Regions from separate parts of the Homo sapiens genome. Here regions 2, 3 and 4 are each linked to region 1. The links are contacts of gene promoters, found by promoter capture Hi-C in blood cells and fetal thymus (Javierre and others, 2016). All regions are on one chromosome and are shown on one strand. The core of a region is centred on a gene start or on the middle of the fragment in contact, and the rest is flanking DNA. Distances in the headings are between cores, read along the strand shown.

Region 1 (4,569 bases), core at 1,146-3,645:
GCCTTCTTCCACTTAGCATAATGTTTTCAAGATTCCTCCATGTTGTGGCATGTTATCAGCATTTCATTCCTTTTTAGGGCTGGAAAATATTCCATTGTATGGATATACTCCTGGTTTGTCCATTCTTCAACTGGTGAACATTTGGGCTGTTTCCACTCTTTGGCTATTTTGAATAATGATGCTATGAGCTTTTGTGTACAGATTATTGTGTGGGCATATGTTTTCACTTCTTTCTTTCTTTTTTTTTTTTTTAGACTGAGTTTTTGCTTTTGTTGTCCAAGCTGGAGTGCAGTGGCGTGATCTCAGCTCACTGCAACCTCTGCCTCCGGGGTTCAAAAGATTCTCTTGCCTCAGCCTCCCGAGTAGCGGGGATTACAAGCATGTGCCACCACGCCCAGCTAATTTTGTATTTTTAGTAGAGACGGGGTTTCTCCATGTTGGTCAGGCTGGTCTGGAACTCCCAACCTCAGGTGATCTGCCCGCCTTGGCCTTCCAAATTGTTGGGATTACAGGCGTGAGCCATGGCTCCCGGCCGTTTTCATTTCTTTTAAGTATATACCTAGGAGAGGAATTGCTGGGTCATATGGTCACTCTACATAGAACTTTTTGAGGACTTGCCAAATTGTTTTCCAAAGTGGCTGCGCCATTTTACATGCCCATCAGCAATATATTGTGAACCCTGAAAATTTGAGACAGGTCTCAATTAATTTAGAAAGTTTATTTTGCCAAGGTTGAGGGCATGCCCATGACAGGCCTCAGGAAGTCCTGAGGACATGTACCCAAGGTGATCAAGGCACAGCTTGGTTTTATACATGTTAGGGAGACATGAGACATCAATGAATGTATGTAAGCAGTACATTGGTTTGGTCTGGAGAGGCAGGACAACTTGAAGCAAAGGCAGGAAGACTACTGCAAAGGCAGGAGGCAGGAGGGAGCTTCCAGGTCACAGATAGGTGATAGACAAACGGTTACACTCTTTGGGTTTCTGATTAGTCTTTATAAAGGAGGCAAATCTGTCTCGGTGAAATGCATCTGTCTCAGTGAGCAGAGGGGTGACTTTGAATGGAATGGGAGGCTGGTTGGCTCTAAGCAACTTCCAGCTTTAGTTTTCCTTAGTGATTTTGGGGGCCCAAGATTTCCCTTTCACAGTATGACGGTTCCAATTTCTTCACATCCTCATATCATATTCTATTTTATGAGTTATCTCTAGATGGGTATTATTATTCCTCTTGGGTTTAGCTCCCTGAGGACACAAACTGTCCTAAGACTATGATAATAGTAATCATAGAACCGTGCACATGGCAAGTTCTGAATAAATCTCAGCTGTTGGATATACTTTTTGTTATAATTACTAACACTTCCTAACTAGAGAGTAAGCCTACTCTAAGAAAAAATATAACTGTAATTTCACAACCTCCAAAGAACCCAGTGCATAAACAGCTACCATTTATTAAGCACTGACTGAATTCTTAGTAATATGTCTTCATTTTTTTCAGATGAGGAAACTAAGATTCAGCTTATTTGTACAAGTAGTTAAAAAGCAAAGCTGAAATTCAGACCCAAGTTCTCACTGTATCATACTGTCCAAAAAAGAATTCTATTTTTCAGGAAGAGACATGTCTGCTCACTTGAGGTCCTCTTATTTTTCCGCTATTCCCCAAAGGAAAGGGGTGATCTCTTAATTCTTTCGTTATGTCCTATTGTACATAGCATATAATGGTAATTCAGAAAAATTACTTCTAATTACATAAATTTTCACAATGGTATAGTGACTAATACGCTGAAATAGAAAAGTAAGGCATTGTTATCATGGTCTAGTTCAGTCTTTATTGCGACTATATCTGATAATATACGGTAAGCATCTAACCACTTGCCAGGGGCCACAGAGCCACAGGGAGACTATGTCTCGCTTAAATTCCCAAAAGTGGGCCCCTGTGCTTCAAAACGTCCCCGCATGGGAACCACAAAAACGTTGCCTCCCCAGTTATCACCCCAAGGGCCCAAGAGCCGAGGACTCTGCCCGGCGTCCTTCAGCTGGCACCAGCTGTCAGAAAAGCGGAACTGGGGACGAGGACTTTGCCCCTAACCAACATGGCCGCCCTGAGGCTTCGGGCTTCGGGCGGCAGAAGGAAGGTCACGTGAAGAGAATTCCGTTCCTTTATTGGCCCCGTCTCCTGGAAGGGCGGGGTACAATAACCCAACCGGCGCCGGCCTTAAAGGGGCCACCGTTGGATCTGCCGGTGGCCGGCCCTAGGGGCTGGGGGGGCGGTCGCCGCGCCGGGCTTCTGCCCCTCCCGCGCGGAACGGTGACGGGCGGGGCTGGCGCTGGGAGGCCGTGTCGCTGGGAGACTGCTGACAGCCCGCCGCCTGCCGCCGCGCGATTCCGAGGGGGTTAACGGCGGAGCCGCCGGCCGGGCGCGGACCGGAGCGCGTGAGGCTCCGGCGCGCAAGCCCGGAGCAGCCCGCTGGGGCGCACAGGGTCGCGCGGGCGCGGGGATGGAGGACGGCGTGGCCGGTCCCCAGCTCGGGGCCGCGGCGGAGGCGGCGGAGGCGGCCGAGGCGCGAGCGCGGCCCGGGGTGACGCTGCGGCCCTTCGCGCCCCTCTCGGGGGCGGCCGAGGCGGACGAGGGCGGCGGCGACTGGAGCTTCATTGACTGCGAGATGGAGGAGGTGGACCTGCAGGACCTGCCCAGCGCCACCATCGCCTGTCACCTGGACCCGCGCGTGTTCGTGGACGGCCTGTGCCGGGTGAGGACCGCGCCGGGCGGGCCGTCGGGGCGGAGGGCGGACACTTGTTGCCCGAGGAGGCGGCGCGGGTCGCAGCGCCCAGTCCCGGCCGCGCGCGGGGCGGGGAGGCAGCGACGTCCCCCGGGCTGCTCGGCCGCGGACCCGTCAGGGCTGGGGCGTGGGGACGGCGCCCCGAGGGTCCCGGTCCCCTAGCACCCCCGGGGCGCGCGGAGCTCACTGCAGAGTCCCACAGGCTCGCCCCGGCCCCCGTGTGCGCCCAGGCTGGTGCGACTAGGGGGGTGAATTCGCTCCCCAAGGTGGGGCAGCGCCGCCGCCCCCTGCGCTCTCGCCATCGCCCCGCATTTACTCGCTGGAGGAGGGGGTCACCTCATTCCTAGGGAGGAGGAAACAGACATTGAGCGGCGACGTGACTCAGTGTTCATAAATAGGACGACGTCCCTGCATTCCCAATCTGCACTATTGGAAGAAAAGCCAATGTTTGGGTGAGGATCCGTGGTTGCTCATTAGCCAGCGGCTGGCCAGTTTTGGTGGAATTGTGTTGGGGGGAAGGGGACCATCTTTCAGACCTTTAGGATATTTAGTCAAGAACCTTGCCCCCTTGTGTGAAGGTGTGGCTTGCCGCCATCGGGGACACCCAGTACATGGGGAGTCGACTCCTTCCCCCGCCTCCCCCCACCCCCGCAAAATCCACACAATTTAGACACTTTGGAGGGTGAGGGGCAGGTATGAGTAATCAATAATGGTGGTGGGGAGGAAGAATTTATTTCAAATCTGCAGTTATTGTGCAGAATAAAATGTGGACAACGTGGGCGTCACAGAATGAAACCGGTCTTTGAGAGATGCCCCATTAGGAGAGCAGCTGTCAAAAAAAGCAGTGCTTTCAGCGCTTGGCTGTGGGTCCACAAATGCTGTCAATGAACTATAGTTGAAGGCTGCTGCCAATACAACACCACTGTGAAACAGAATGGTGTATGTAAGTGTCATTTATTTATAATTTATATGTTCACTTACTTTCTGAAAGGAATTACAATGGCCGTGTGCTTAGGTAAGCTTCCAGGCATGCTTTCTAGAGCAGCAATTGTCAGGAACTCAGGGTCTTACTGATTGATCTTACTCTAAAACCTTTTCCTCTCCATATAAACTAAGCGCTAGCCAGCATTTCAGACCTTTTCCTTAGGAGTTCTAGGCTGTCTTTCTGCTAGAACAAGGTCAAGTCACGTAAGACGGCACTTACTTGTAGTGTTGGAGACAATTTTTTCCAGTGTTGGATACAATCCTGAAATTGTGTTGTATGAAAGTTTGCCCACTTCGCTAGCTATTCATTTTAACAAATATTTATTGAGACTTCGCTACGGGATAGGTACTGTCCTAGGCTCTGAGGCTGCATCAGTAAATAAAATAGCATTTCTGCCTCCAGGGTTGACATTTTTTGGAAGGGAAACAAGCAATAAAGAAATATCAAATGTATCAGAAAGTAATGATGCTATAGGAAAAAATAAGACTTGGAGGGCAGGAGGAGGGAGTGGAGATCTGGGAGTGGAGGGGAGATTGCTATTTTCCATAAGATGATCAGGGAAGGTCTTACTGATATGGTGATATTTTGAGCAGAGACAATGTAGCATTGGTTCATTCAGGCTTTGCTGTCTATTGAGTGCTTACTGTGTTCCAGCCACTGGTTTAGGCCCAGAGGATAAAGCAGGGAACATTTCAAGCTCCTTGCTTTCATGGAGCTTAGGATCCAGTGGTTGAGGGGGAGATAGACAATAGGAAAAAGGCAAGTGAACAAGATCATTTCGGATAGTGATAAATGCGATGAAGAGA
Region 2 (4,569 bases), core at 1,165-3,664, 220 kb after region 1:
GGTAAAAGTCAGGGTTCTATTACTAGGGAGAAGGGGAGAAGGAACACTGAGGAAGGCAGCTAATGGTCTTGGCCATACTCCCTGCTCCCTTTCCTCTGGTGCTACCAGTCATTCACTCATCAAATACTGGAGCACCTTCTGTGTGCCTGGCTGGGTGCGTCAGGGCCAGGAGTACCAAGGAAAACAAGCCTGGACCCTCAAGGTCCAGGTCTGGTGTGGAGGTGGGGGCCACCTCCCACTCAGTGAGATGTTGGAGGTTTGCGTAGTGAGAGCTGAGTCCAGGGCCTGGCGCTGAAGAGCTGTGGGCAGGGTTGCAGGAAGAGGTGAAACTGAAGTGGAGGACAGAAAGAAGAATGGGGATTTCACCACAGAGAGAAAAGGAGGAAAAGAGGAAGGCCCACCCAGGCAGAAGCGCAAGTGGACCAAGCCTACCGCTGACCCAGCATTAAACAAAAATTATGGGAGGCTATTGTTTTGGACTGAGATCCTGCACTAGGCCCCAACAGACCAGATCAAACCAAACCAAAATGGAGTCAGTCATGCTAAGAGCCATATAATCAACCCAAAACTTTAATAAGGAAGCAGGTAGGTCCCCAAACAGATTAGTTTTTCCTGAAAACAGGAGCTTCTGGTCTACCTGAGTCAGCGTGATTAGGAGGTCCTGAAGTAACCTGATGTTAACCCATCAGCTTCTTTTCTATTGTTCTGTTTCCTTGTCCCCACCTTACAAAGCCCACTGTTCTGCAATTGTCCGGTGGGAGCTCTTGCTCTGTTTTATAGAAGGGAGGCTGCCCCATTCATGAATCAAGAATAAAAGACAATGAGGTCTATGACTAAACGTGTTGCAGTTTTGTCTTTTGACATTGGGCACAGGGTGCGTCTGTGAGTGATGTGTGTGTGTGCGGTGTGTGTGTGTGTGTGTGTGTCCGTGAAAGCCATCTGGGTGGGAAATGCAAGCAGAATGAACAGAAGAATGGAAGTGTAGATAGGAACAGGATGGAAAAAGATACAACAAGCAATGCTGGCCTCTGTCACCATCGTGTCACTGATGCTGACGTCTTGAAGATTTTATGTCCCAGACTTCGAAGTACAAAAACTCGCTTTACTTTACTTGGCTCAGACTCGACCGCACAGCTGTGAAAAGTCCAGTCTCACAGTGAGACCATGAGGGCTGGTTCCTGTCTCTGCCTCCCACCAGCTGGGGGACCTTAGGCAGGGCCTCTCTGCCTCAGTTTCCTTATCTGCGAAAAGGGGATAATGATACCGTTACCCTCTGTGGAGGCAGCTGTGAGCTCTTGGGGAGTAAGGGCTGAAGGATTTGCTGCCTCGCGTGCGCTGTCTCCTGCCCCTCCTCCCACCTTTCCCGATGGCTCCTTCCCAGGTTGGGCTCCTGCTGCCTCTCCCTCTGCCCATCTTCTACAGTGTAGGTCTCAAAAGGAGGGTCAAGAATTGCCTGGGGATGTTCGTATCACAAATTCCTGGTCCTTCTCCTGCAGGTTCTGATGCAGTGGACCTGGAATCCAGCCCAGGAGTCTGCATTTTATTTTTATTTTTATTTTTTAGGTTGGTTTTTTTTTTTTTTTTGACACAGAGTCTCACTCTTTTACCCAGGCTGGAGTGCAGTGGTGCGATGTCTGCTCACTGCAACCTCCACCTCCCGGGTTCAAGCAATTCTCCTGCCTCAGCCTCCGGAGGAGCTGGGATTACAGGCATGCACCACCACGCCCAGCTAATTTTTGGTTTTCTTTTAGTAGAGACAGGGTTTCACCATGTTGGCCAGGCTGGTCTCAAACTCCTGACCTCAGGTGATCCTCCTGTCTCGGCCTCCACTAGGATTACAGGCATGAGCCACTGCACCAGGCCAGAGTGTGCATTTTAAATGGCCTCTCCTGCTTGCTCATGTTTGAGAACTCATCCTCCTTTCTCTTCTCCTTCTAGACTCTCCACCGTCCATCCTCTGGCTTCACTCTGACACAGATGAGATCTGCATGGGGGAGCTCCCTCATGGTGTGATGGTGCGTGTGTTTCCGGCAGTGGGTCAGGAGCTCTCCAACGTCAGGCCTGGGTCCCTGCCATCTCTGCCTGTGGGGCCTGGCACAGAGCAGGGCACTAAGCAAAGCCCCAGGAACATTTGTGTAATCAACTCGGGGTGAGGTGGAGAACTCTAAAGATCCAGGCATCTGGAAGTCTTCGGGAATGAGACATTGACAGCTACGTTTCCCTATAGACAGAATTTGAAGAAAGCTTGGGCAGAGGCAACGCTTTTGAAAGAATCCCAGACTCTTTGTTTGAATTATTTGGTTTCTGAGATTCCTCACGTATGTCTGTGTTATGTATGTGCTTGTTAAACAGACTGTGTGAAACGGCTGAACCTCTTCTTCACGCCTGAGGTCATCACCATGAACATAACATCATCACGTGTGGCATCCCATGTGGGACGCTGTGGCTGCCGCAGTGTCTGGCGCATGAAGAGCACACGGTGAGTTCTCAAGTCTGCTTCTCAAAGACCGTCCCTCTTGCTCAAAGGTATTTCTGCTGCTGACAGCCTTTCTTCCTTTCTGTTTCTAATATGTTGTAAGCTTGAAAACCAAACAAATGTGTTGCGAATGTGTGAATGTGTGTAATAGATCAAGCAGGATGTGCATGAGGGACTCTGGGGCTCTCCGTGGGTGGAGAATGTGGATGTCGGCTTCTGGCCTTCACAACGCATTTCAGGTCCTTTGTGTTTGTTCTCGGTCATGGTCCAGCGGGTTGAGGGATTGCTTTGGTCCAGGTGGGGTCCTGCTAGTGGGCTTTACCAGTCTCTACAACCAGCGGTGCATGCATCCACCCAATAATTTAACATCAAACTACACATCTACCAACTTCATGTACCTAAGGAGTGGAATGATAGCAAGAACTCCGCCTTGAAAACCCCTAACCTCTGAGCCTTCAGAGAGACCGATTTGAATAAGAACGCCATCTCCTGCGCGGCCTGCCTTACTGCAATTAAACTCTTTCTTTATTGAAACAAACAAACAAACAAACAAAAAAACCCAAAACATAAAAAACGAACAAAATCCCTTCAATTAGTGATTAATCATCTCCCCCTAGTGGTAGAAGGGTGCATAGGAAAAGTAACCAAGCAAAAACAAAACTCCCAAATGCTCTTCAGAAAAAACCTACACCCAGCCTGGGCAGTACAGCGTGACCCTTGTCTCTAAACAAAAGATAAATAAATTAGCAGGGCCTAGTCCCAGCTACTCGGGAGGCTGAGGTGGGAAGATCGCTTGAGCCCAGGAGTTCAAGGCTGCAATAAGCTATGATTGTACCATTGCACTCCAACCTGAGGGACACAGCACGTCCTCATCTCTAAAAAAACAAAAGCAAAAACAAAAAACAGAAAAGCCACGGGCACTGTTGGGATGATCAGTGGTTTAGTCCAGTCCTTATGTCACCTTCTACCTAATTTTCCAAGATGGCCAGATCTTCCACAAATTCCAAAGTGTAGCTTTAAATCCCAAAGCCTAGAAAAGCGCTTGTGTTTAGCACATGAGTGTCTACTGGTCAGCAGATCCCCCGCCTTGGACTTATGAGGCACACAGGCGGGTGGGCATGAGGGAGGAAGTGGTGCCAAGGTAGCAGGTCTGATGCCAGGCAAGGCAGGAGCAGGTGATACCCTACACCTGCAGGGTGGGCAGCAGAGAGGCCAGGCCCCTGGGGCAGGAACATGGGCCAGGGTGGGTGGGGTAACCTGCCAGGGTGCAAGGAGGCCCTGACAAAGGGAGGATGGTAGGCCACGGCCCAGGGTCAGTTCTAGGCCCCATCTGAGCATGTCACGAAAGCGTGGGGATGGCAGAAATCCAAGGGCATCCCACCTCTGCTGTGGTCTTCCATTCACGTTCTAACAGGACCCCAGGCCGCAGCAGGATTAGGCAGAATAAAGTCACCAGGGCTCCTGGCAAAGGCTGGAGCGGCCTCCTTCAGAGAGAATGAGGTCTGGGCTTACGTGAAAGTCCACTTTGACTATGGTGAGCACTGCAGCTTGTAGGAGCAGGGTCTGTCTGTCCTCAGAACTTTGTAAATTCTTTCCTGCTTCCTAAATTGTCCTGAAGAGCATCCAGCAAGCACAGTGCAATTTAAGATGGAACTCCCCTGACTCCCCACATGGAAAACGCATGTTCGACACAAACTGGGCCAGGACGGGGAGACGTTTACTAACACACACTCCTGCAAGTTTCCCATGCAGCCATCAGCAACCAGACCAAACACTCCGCACTGCTTCCAGTGCCAGCTGCTGCCACCTCACTCCCCATCCACTCTGGGGTCTTGCGAAGAAGTGGGAGAGCATGAGCTCTTGTCACAGGGATCTGCGTGTGTTAGGTGCTGAGTAAAACATCTTCCCATCCTCCCTGCCCTTGGTTCCAGTGGCTCCTAGGGTGCCCTACCCTTCATTTCTCATCAGCAAATCCCAAGGAGCAAACAGGTGAGGAGAGGACAAAACACACCCTAGGGCTCCCAACGATTCCTCCCTGCGAGGACCCTCATGGTTAACACAGGAGTCACCTTTCCTGGACACACACAGCCTCC
Region 3 (4,569 bases), core at 1,279-3,778, 210 kb after region 1:
GGGGGCCACGTGGAAATGGAAAGTTCCAGAACGGTGAGGGGAGAACTACTGAAAATGGTTTAGCGGGGTGGGCTGGACGAGGTGCATTTTGTGATTTGGCTGCATTGCAAAGTCTTGAGCCAAGACTCAGCCAGGGCTGGGGTCGCCTCTGGGGATGCAGCTTAGTGCAGGTGGAAGCCAGGCTACAGTTTGGTGAAGCCTCTCAGCACAGTGCTGGGGCGAGTCCTCTACACTCTGTGGAATTCCCAGTTCACTGGAGGCTCGCTAGCAGGGCAAGTGTGGCCCGAAGGTGCACTGTCCATGTCAGGCAGGCATGCAGGGAAGCCGGGGAGCTGACACCCTGCTGGGGGCAGGGGAGTGGGTGGCCTGGGGTGCCTTGGGTCCCATCAGCAGGGTCATGGGAAACAGCCTCCAGGCTGCACAGTGGTGGACAGCAGTGCTGGCTCCCCCTGTACCTGCCCACCAGCCTTGGCCCTCCTAGGCCCCGAAGGGTCGTTTCCTGCTGTCCAGTGACTGTAGACCAGCCCTGGCCCAGGAAACCCTATAAACTTCTCCTCCAACTATTTCTCCTGGAGAAGACAAGAGTGCCAATGGATTACTACAGTGCAGGGCAATTGAGCAAAGATGGGGATGAACTGGGGTCCCATGGGAGCAGGGAGGAGGGGCCAGGGAACCCTGGCCAGAAATAGGAAAGCAGTAATGGAAGGGACGACTCAGGAGAGGGAGTGCCCATCTCAGAGCCTTTCAGGAACCTGGCATTTAATAAATGCCTCCTCCAGAGGGAAGGATTCAGGCAGATCACTTCTAGAAGGGGTCACCGCCTCTCCAGGTTCTGCATGGTCCACAGCATATGTACAGTCCCCAGAAGCTAGACTCCTTCCAGGCCTGGTGTGGAGGGAACCTAAGTGTGTGATGGAGGAGAGTCTTCCACGGGCTATGAACTCTTTGTAAAAAACAAAACAAAACAAAACAAAAAAACAGCATGCATGCGATGCTGGGGGCTTAGGACAATATCTTAAAACAGAACTGAAACATTGGTGGATAAACCTCAGGACAGGCAGGAAAAGAGCCGTAGCTCATCCACCATCAGCATTAGCAATGTAATCAGACACAACGGAAAATCAATGAAGTAAAACCAACCAGCAGGATTATGTTGTTGAGCCTCCAATAAATGTCTTAAGTGTCCAATAGAGCCATATCGTTTTGATGACATGAATTTCTGTGTTGCTTTTCTGATTGCTCAAAATCCTGAAATTCTTTGGAGAGTATTATCAATGTCATTATCTTTGCCAGGAAGATGCTGAGCTGTCTTCCCTGAAGCAGTGTTCTCCCTGGGTTGTTTGAACCCCTGACTGTCACGTGCCTTCTGTCCTAAGCTGCCACCAAGGCCCAGACAAGCCCTGCCATGCATGTGTCTCTTTATTAATACATAGTACAGCAGGGAGCTGCCCCCTCTCCCAGCCAGGCAGGGCCGCTTATCCCACACCCCCTGCCTTGCAAGCACACTTAGTGTGGAGTATATTAGGAAGTTTAATTAGCAGAAAATAAATAAAGTAGGGATCCCAGCTTGAGCCCAGGCTGTCCCCTGCTGGGGTGGGACATGTCTGAACAGTGTTGATGAGAGTTTTATGAAAGACGCATCTCCTAGAGGAAAGGACATGGAGAGAAGTAAGTTTGATTCCCTCTCGGAGGAGCCTGAGTGCCCAGAAGTCCAAGCAAGAATCTTGAGCTGTATCTGGGAGTGGGGGTGCTTAGATCACGAGCATACTCCTGAACCCTGGCAATGGGGCAGAGCATGGAATGTGCTGACTGGCTTAAGCTTGGAGCAGGACTTGATGTGGCTTCCTCCAAAGGAACCTGAGTTCTGTGGGAGATGGATGAACATCTGAACAACTCAGGGCACTGCTGGGGATATGGAAGCTGGCAGGCAGCCCTTACCATTTGAGGTGCGATAGGGAGAGAGGATAACCAACGTTTAACAAACTCTATCAAATACTGGGTGCGTTGACACGTGCCAGCCCCAGGATGCTCTTAGAAACTCTATGAGGGGAGTGTAATTAGAGCACTGAGGCTCAGAGAGGTTAAGAAACTTGTATATTGTCACACAGCTAGCAAGAGTTTCAGGAAGCTAGATCTAACAGATTCCAAGGCCCATGTAATGTTTCCATCAGGTATTTGTCCAAAAAACACTTTTCCTTCAAGGTAAGGAGTGGGAAGGCTACTCGTATGGGGGCATGGTGTCCCAGCAGCCCACAGCTCAGTGCCAGACTGTGAGTGAGAAGACGAATGTGTGTCCCATCTCTGCCACTTCTGTCTGTGTGGCCTCAAGACCCTCACCTAGAAGGATGGCTGAAGTATCACTCCAGGCCTGGTGTCCTGACTTCTTGAACAACTGTCTAGGGTGTGCAAGCCAGCACATCCCCTTTTCTGCTCCCTAGTTAGATGGATTTAGCTAGGCTATTGCTTTGTGAGAATAGAGGGACCCAAGAGCCTCATTCTCCATCTATATAACTCAAAGACTTTGTATAAGTCAGGGTGAGCTGGTTTTGTCATGAGAAACAACCACCCCAAACTCTCAGTGGCTGCAGACAGCTGGCTTTCTTTCTTTCCCCCGCCACATGCGTGCAGCAGGTCTGCTGGTGGCTGTGCTCTGAGACTCAGGTTGCTCCTGCAGACCCTCTGGAAACATGGCCATTCTCAGCTCTGGAGGGACGAGTCCCTGAGTATCTCACCTGGACAATTAAATGCTCCAGCCTGGAAGAGACACGAGTCACGTCCATCCACCATTCATTGGCTAGAATAAGCCCATGGCTCCTCTCAACCGTGGGGGCAGGGAAGTCTCATCCCACCGGGGCCTGGAAGGCTGAGAACCAAAAGTTGGGCGAACAGTACTCATGGCTATCATAGAGTGGAACCAGTTCCAAGACTCTCAAACCATTTTTTGAGAGCAAGGGGAAGCCTAATCTCATTCTCTATTTTCTATCATCTTTTTTACTTATATAAACCCAAACCTCTCTTTATTAAAACATCTCTCTATATATATGTCTATTTTAAAAAGTCTCTCTCTATATGTCTTTGTGAGAAAAAAAAATGTGTTACGTTCCTTTCAAAACCAACCCTGAGGCTCTGGAAGCACTAATGTTCTCCACCCACAGTTCCCCACCGGCCCCTGATCAGACCTGGTTCTAGGACAGGGGTTCTCACCTTGGCTTCCCTGTAGAATCACCTGGAAGCTTGTAAAAATCCCATGGATGCCAGGTCTCACCCCAGGCCAATTCTGTCAGAACCTCTGAGCTGGTGCCAGGCAGAAGCAATTGGGTGAAACTCCCAGGAGATGCCTGGATGGGTCCAGGTTGAGTCTGCTGTTCCGGGTGAGCCCTGAAGCAGCTTCCAGCTCCGGGGCTGCCTCTTTCTTTCCCAGGTGAGGTTCCAGGAGAAGCCAGAGATGGGGGTTTGCCTTAACAAACCAGGAGCTGAGGAAGGTCGAAGAGAATTCGGTGATTATCCCGACTCATGATTCCAGCTCCTTCCCAGTGGTGGGAGCTGGGAATGCCGTGGGAAGCAGGCGTGGGAGGGGTGCCCAGGGAGACAGGTGCCCGGGTGTGCTGTCACTCAGTTCCAGGCCTGAGCTCAGCTGCTGAGAAAACAGGAAGTGCATCAGGAACTGAGTGTGCTCAAGTCCTGGGTATTCACAATTCACAAGGACACGTGCACACATTCACACACACATTTGCACATCCCCATAAGCATACACACACACACACATACTCAGCTGGGCGTGATGGCTCACACCTCTCATCCCAGAACTTTGGGAGGCCGAGGCAGGTGGATCACCTGAGGTCAGGAGTTTGAGACCAGCCTGGCCAACATAGTGAAACCCCATCTCTATAAAAAAAAAAAAATACAAAAATTAGCCAGCTGTAGTAGCGGGTACCTATAATCCCAGCTACTCAGGAGGCTGAGGCAGGAGAAGTGCTTGAACCTGGGAGGCAGAGGTTGCAGTGAGCCAAGATAGAGCGACTGTGCTCCAGCTTGGGTGACAGAGTGAGACTCTATCTCAAAAAGAAAGGAAGGAAGGAAGGCAATCATTGAGACAATCAGTATTGCCAGGGAAGAAGGCTTTAATTGGGTGCTGCTGCCCAGGAGATGGAGCTCAGTCTCAAATCCATCTTCTGGACCCACTAAAATTAGGGGTTTATATAGCAGGGAAGAAATGTAACAGGAACTCGGGAGGGGTAAGGAAGCAGTCATGATGAATGGAGGGCCTGACGTCTCATTGTCTAGACAAGATGATCTGGTGAGTTTCAGTTCTCTGATACTTTTGGAGAGGACTTGGGCTCCTTTCCTGAGGAAGCAACTCAGATAAAACAAATTTAATTTTCAAGCTTTAAGACCAGAAGGGTCAATTTCTGTATTCATCAAAAACAAACAAACAAACAAAACAACAACAACAACAACTAACTGTCTATGGGACTATTGGTTCGGTTTCATTCTTTTTTTTCAGATTTTCTTCTCCATGAAAAAAATGTTTTTAAAAGAATCTCTTCCACAGAAAAAAAAAGCAACTGG
Region 4 (4,569 bases), core at 1,545-4,044, 180 kb after region 1:
TACATTTAGGAAAGATTAATACAAACAAGTGAAAGCTGAGCACGGTGGCTCACGCCTGTAATCCCAGCACTTTGGGAGGCTGAGGCAGGCAGATCACCTGAGGTCAAGAGTTCAAGACCAGCCTGGCCAACGTGGCAAAATCCTGATTCTACTAAAAATACAAAAATTAGCTGGGCATGGTGGCGCATGCCTGTAGTCCCAGCTACTCAGTAGGCTGAGACACAGGAATCACTTGAACCCTGGAGGTGGAGGTTGCAGTGAGCCGAGTTAGTGCCACTGCACTTTAGCCTGGGCAACAGAGTGAGACTCTGTCACAAAAACAAACAAACAACAACAACAACAAAAAACAAGCGAGAATATTATTGACTGGCTTATTCCACTTCAGAGCTGTGGATGGCAGAGCCCATCCCAGAGGCACAGGGTCAAGGCAGACACCAACCCTGGACAGGGTCCTCTTCCATCATAGGGCACACTCACCCACTTCCACACTCGCTCACACTGGGACCATGTAGACATGCCAGTTCACCTACCGTGCATAGCTTTGGGATGTGGGAGGAAACTGGAGGACCCAGAGGAAACCCACACAGACATGGGGAGAACGCACACCCTCCACAGAGACAGTGGCCTGGCTAGGAATTGACTTTTTTTTCTCATCAACTTTATAGCAAAATGATGTTGAATGAGATAGTGTCATCCAAGGACCTGCTGTATAATGACATGTATCCACCATCGTAGTAATATACAGAGCATTTTCGCTGCCCTTAAAGTCCTCTATGCTCTACCTGGTTATCTTCCCCCCACCCGTCTCAACTGCTGGCAACCACTGATGTTTTCACCATAGTTTTGCCTTTTTCAGAATGTCACATAGTTAGAGTCATACAGTATGTAGCTTTTCATAAGGGCTTCTTTCACTCAGTCATATGCATTTCAGTTTCCTCCATGTCTTTTCATGTCTTGATAGCTCATTTCTTTTTAGCACTGAATAATATTCTACTGTGTGGATACACCACAGTTTATTTATCCATTCACCTACTGATGGACATCTTGTTTGCTTCCAAGTTTGGGCAATAATAAATAAAGCTTGCTATGAGCATCTGTGTGCAAGTTTTTGTGTGGTTACAAGTTTTCAACTCCTTTGGGTAGATACCTAGGAATACAGTTTCTGGATCGTATGGTAAGAGTACACGCCGTTTTGTAAAGAGCTGCCAAACTGTGTTCCAAACTGGCTGCACTATTTTGCATTACCATCAGCAATGAATGCGGATAAAAAACGCCACATCCTTACCAGCATTTGGTGTTGTCAGTGTTCTGGGTTTTGGCCATTCCAATAGGTGTGTAGCCCACTGTATTCATCAGGGTTCTCTAGAGGGACAGAACTAATGGAATGAATATATGTATATGTATATATATAGTATATGTATATATATGTGTATATATGTATTTATGTATATGTGTATATATGTATATATGTATACGTGTATATATGTATATATGTATATGTGTATATATATGTGTATATATGTATATGTGTATATATATGTATGTGTATATATGTATATATGTATATACATATATTCCAGTATATGTGTGTATACACACACACACACACACACATATATATACACACACACACACATAATATAAACAGGAGTTTATTAAGTATTAACTCACACAATCATAAGGTCCCACAATAGGCTGTCTGCAAGCTGAGAAGCCAGAAGAACCTCCTGAGTAGCTGGGATTACTGGCATGCACCACCATGCCCCACCATGCCCAGCTAATTTTTGTATTTTTGGTAGAGACGGGGTTTTGCCATGTTGGCCAGACTGATCTTGAACTCCTGACCTCAAGTGATCCCCCAGCCTCGAGCCACCATGCCCAGCCAGCTGGTCTGTTTCTTAATGTTAAAGTCTTTGACTATTAAAAAATTGGACAGCTTATTGTATGTGTTACAAATGTTTCCCCCATTATCATTGATCTCTTGACTTTTTGATAGCATTTTTTGCCATAAAGAAATGTCTAACTTTGTGTAGTTGGATTTATCAGTCTTTTTTTAATGATTTCTGACTTTTGTGCCACACTTGGAAAGATTGCCACCGTCTGGGATTATAAAAATAAATCTCTCATGTTTGCTCTAGTTCTTTCATGGCTTTATTTAAACATATATAGATATATAAAATCTTAGCCCCATCTGGAATGTATTTTGGTGTGTGTAGAGCTCCAGTTTTACTCTTTCCCAGTCTACTCAATCGTCCCATTCATTTCTGAGATAACTAATCTTTTCTCCATTGATTTGAAATGTCCCCTTTATTTTATACTGTTTTCCTGAATGTTTTCAGTCTATTTCTGGATTTTATTCTGTTCCACTGATCTATCTGCCTGTTTATTTATTTATTTGTTTGTTTGTTTATTTTAATTTTGAGATAGAGTCTTGCTCTGTCGCCCAGGATGGAGTGCAGTGGTGCAATCTCGGCTTACTGCAACCTCTGCTTCCCAGGGTCCAGCAATTCTCCTGCCTCGGCCTGCCAAGTAGCTGGGACTACAGGTGCGTGCCACCATGCCTGGCTAATTTTTGTATTTTTAGTACAGACGAGGTTTCACCATGTTGGCCAGGCTGGTCTCGAACTCCTGACCTCGGGTGATCCACCAGCCTCGGCCTCACAAAGTGCTGGGATTACAGGCATGAGTCACCATGCCCAGCCCCTTGTCTGCTTGTTTATATGCTAGGATCAAACACTTTTAATTTCTGTGGCTTTCCAAAATGTTTTAACATCTTTTGGTGATATTTTCTTTCATTACTTTTTCCCTGGAATTTCCTTGGCTATTTTTGCATATTCGATTTTCCATAAAAATATTAGCATCAACTTGTCTCTGTTAATTTCGATGAGGCAAAACCCTCAAGCTCTTTGTTTAAATAAGAAATCTAACATATTTGTTTATCCCCTGCCTCCTGTGAGAGAAGAGAGAAACCAAAGAAAGTTCGCAAAGGCTTATACCTTTGAGGAAACAGAGGTATCAATTTAAATATCTCTGCCAGAGCCAATCAGTCTGAATTTTAGCCTTTGGGGAAGTTAGGGTTGCTTTTCTTGGGCAGAGCATCAGCCTCTGAAATCCAGGGGATTTACTTCCTCCTTTGTTAAAATGACATAGGCAAGGATAGGTGTTTGTTTGTTTGTTTGTTTTGAGATAGAGTCTCACTCTTTTCACCCAGGCTGGAGTGCAGTGGCACTATCTCAGCTCACTGCAACCTCCACGTCCCAGGTTCAAGCAATTCTCCTGCCTCAGCCTCCCAAGTAGGTGGGATTACAGGTGTGCGCCACCACCCAACTAATTTTTGTATTTTTAGTAGAGACGGGGTTTCACCTTGTTGGCCAGGCTGGCCTCGAACTCCTGACCTCAGGTGACCTGCCTGCCTTGGCCTCCCAAGTTGCTGAGATTACAGACGTGAGCCACTGCGCCTAGCCAAGAATAGGCGTTTATCACGCAGGATGCTATCTGCCACTCTCTGCAGCTGCAGGAAAAAAAAAGAACATTTTTTTCCTTTTAATTTTGCTGCAACTTTGCTGTGATTTTTCAAGCCTTAAAGCTGGAACTTTATTCATTGGTGCCGAGAGAAAGAAAGGCAGGTCTGAAAAGCACAAAATATGTCATTAGAAAGGAAAAGGGAAGAAGAAAATCACTAAATGGAATATTTGGCATTCAGTGTAGTCTGGAAAACAAAACAAAAACAGCACAACAACAACAAAACAAGGGAAATTTCCATTGGAATTATACTAAATTTATAGATTAATTCAGGAAGGATTGTCATCTTTATGCAGATGAGTCTTTCTACCCAAGACTAGGAAATATACTTGCATGTAGTCAAATCTTCCGTTTTGTCCCTCTGTTGTTTAGATTTTCTTTGTGTAAATTTTGTGCAACTCTTGGGTGTTCTATCTTTGGGGTTTCCTATTGTAAATGGAATCTTCTATTCAATTATATCTCAAAGATATTGTTGTTAATATAGATTCTTGGATATTGTTTTGTAAAAACATTTATTTTGTGCCCCCTGAGCTTCCTGAATTATCCTGCTCTTTCTAATGGTTTTGCAATTGATTCTCTTATTTTTTCCAATCATACAGTCAATGATTGTTTTTGCCACCTTCTTTCTAGTTTTTGTACCTCTTCCCCACTCTTGTCTAACTGAATTGGTAATTCCCCAGTGCAATACTAAATGGTGGTGGTGATAATGGGTAATTGGGTCTTATTTCTGACTAAACTGGGGTGCTTCTGTTATTTCAGCATTGAATATACATCTAATTGCTAACTTGAGATAATCACAGAGTGGATTTCCTAATATTGAACAACTCCTTCCACAAATCTTTTAATGCAGTGTTAGATCTATCAGCTAATATTGTATTTAGAATATTTACATCTATATCCATAAGTGGAGTTGGTCTGTGTTTTTCTTTTATTGTGGTTATTTGATTCTATAGTTATTGTTATGGAATCATTGACATGCAAGCTTCACAGGAATAATTTGGAAGGTTTTCTCCTTTCTCCATGCTCTCTAGAACAGTTTAAAAACAT

The links. Contacts are between HindIII fragments. The CHiCAGO score rates a contact against its expected background, and 5 or more counts as called.
Region 2: a contact is called between a fragment that was not itself captured here and the fragment with the promoter of RCAN1 in region 1, in 11 of 17 cell types (M2 macrophages, megakaryocytes, M1 macrophages and 8 more). The highest score is 13.2, in M2 macrophages.
Region 3: a fragment that was not itself captured here is called in contact with the fragment with the promoter of RCAN1 in region 1 in 4 of 17 cell types (M2 macrophages, M1 macrophages, megakaryocytes and 1 more); the score reaches 6.6 in M2 macrophages.
Region 4: a fragment that was not itself captured here is called in contact with the fragment with the promoter of RCAN1 in region 1 in 5 of 17 cell types (megakaryocytes, endothelial precursors, monocytes and 2 more); the score reaches 8.3 in megakaryocytes.

What each region holds. Positions count from the first base shown.
Region 1 is chr21:34,612,939-34,617,507 of GRCh38, reverse strand. It overlaps RCAN1 (regulator of calcineurin 1), which reads left to right and starts at 2,395. Exons shown (of 4, transcript NM_004414.7): 1 at 2,395-2,748. The coding sequence starts at 2,497. RefSeq lists silencers at 2,161-2,590, 2,781-2,880. The HindIII fragment of the contact is 8,899 bases long and covers 1-3,800 here.
Region 2 is chr21:34,389,496-34,394,064 of GRCh38, reverse strand. No RefSeq gene overlaps it. Among named protein-coding and RNA genes, the nearest start is that of C21orf140, 9.3 kb to the left of the region's middle. The HindIII fragment of the contact is 335 bases long and covers 2,247-2,581 here.
Region 3 is chr21:34,406,584-34,411,152 of GRCh38, reverse strand. LOC105372793 (salivary glue protein Sgs-3) reads right to left here. Exons shown (of 6, transcript XR_001755015.2): 2 at 3,205-3,473; 3 at 2,733-2,863. Among named protein-coding and RNA genes, the nearest start is that of C21orf140, 7.8 kb to the right of the region's middle. The HindIII fragment of the contact is 1,414 bases long and covers 1,822-3,235 here.
Region 4 is chr21:34,436,499-34,441,067 of GRCh38, reverse strand. No RefSeq gene overlaps it. Among named protein-coding and RNA genes, the nearest start is that of SMIM34, 15 kb to the right of the region's middle. The HindIII fragment of the contact is 3,424 bases long and covers 1,083-4,506 here.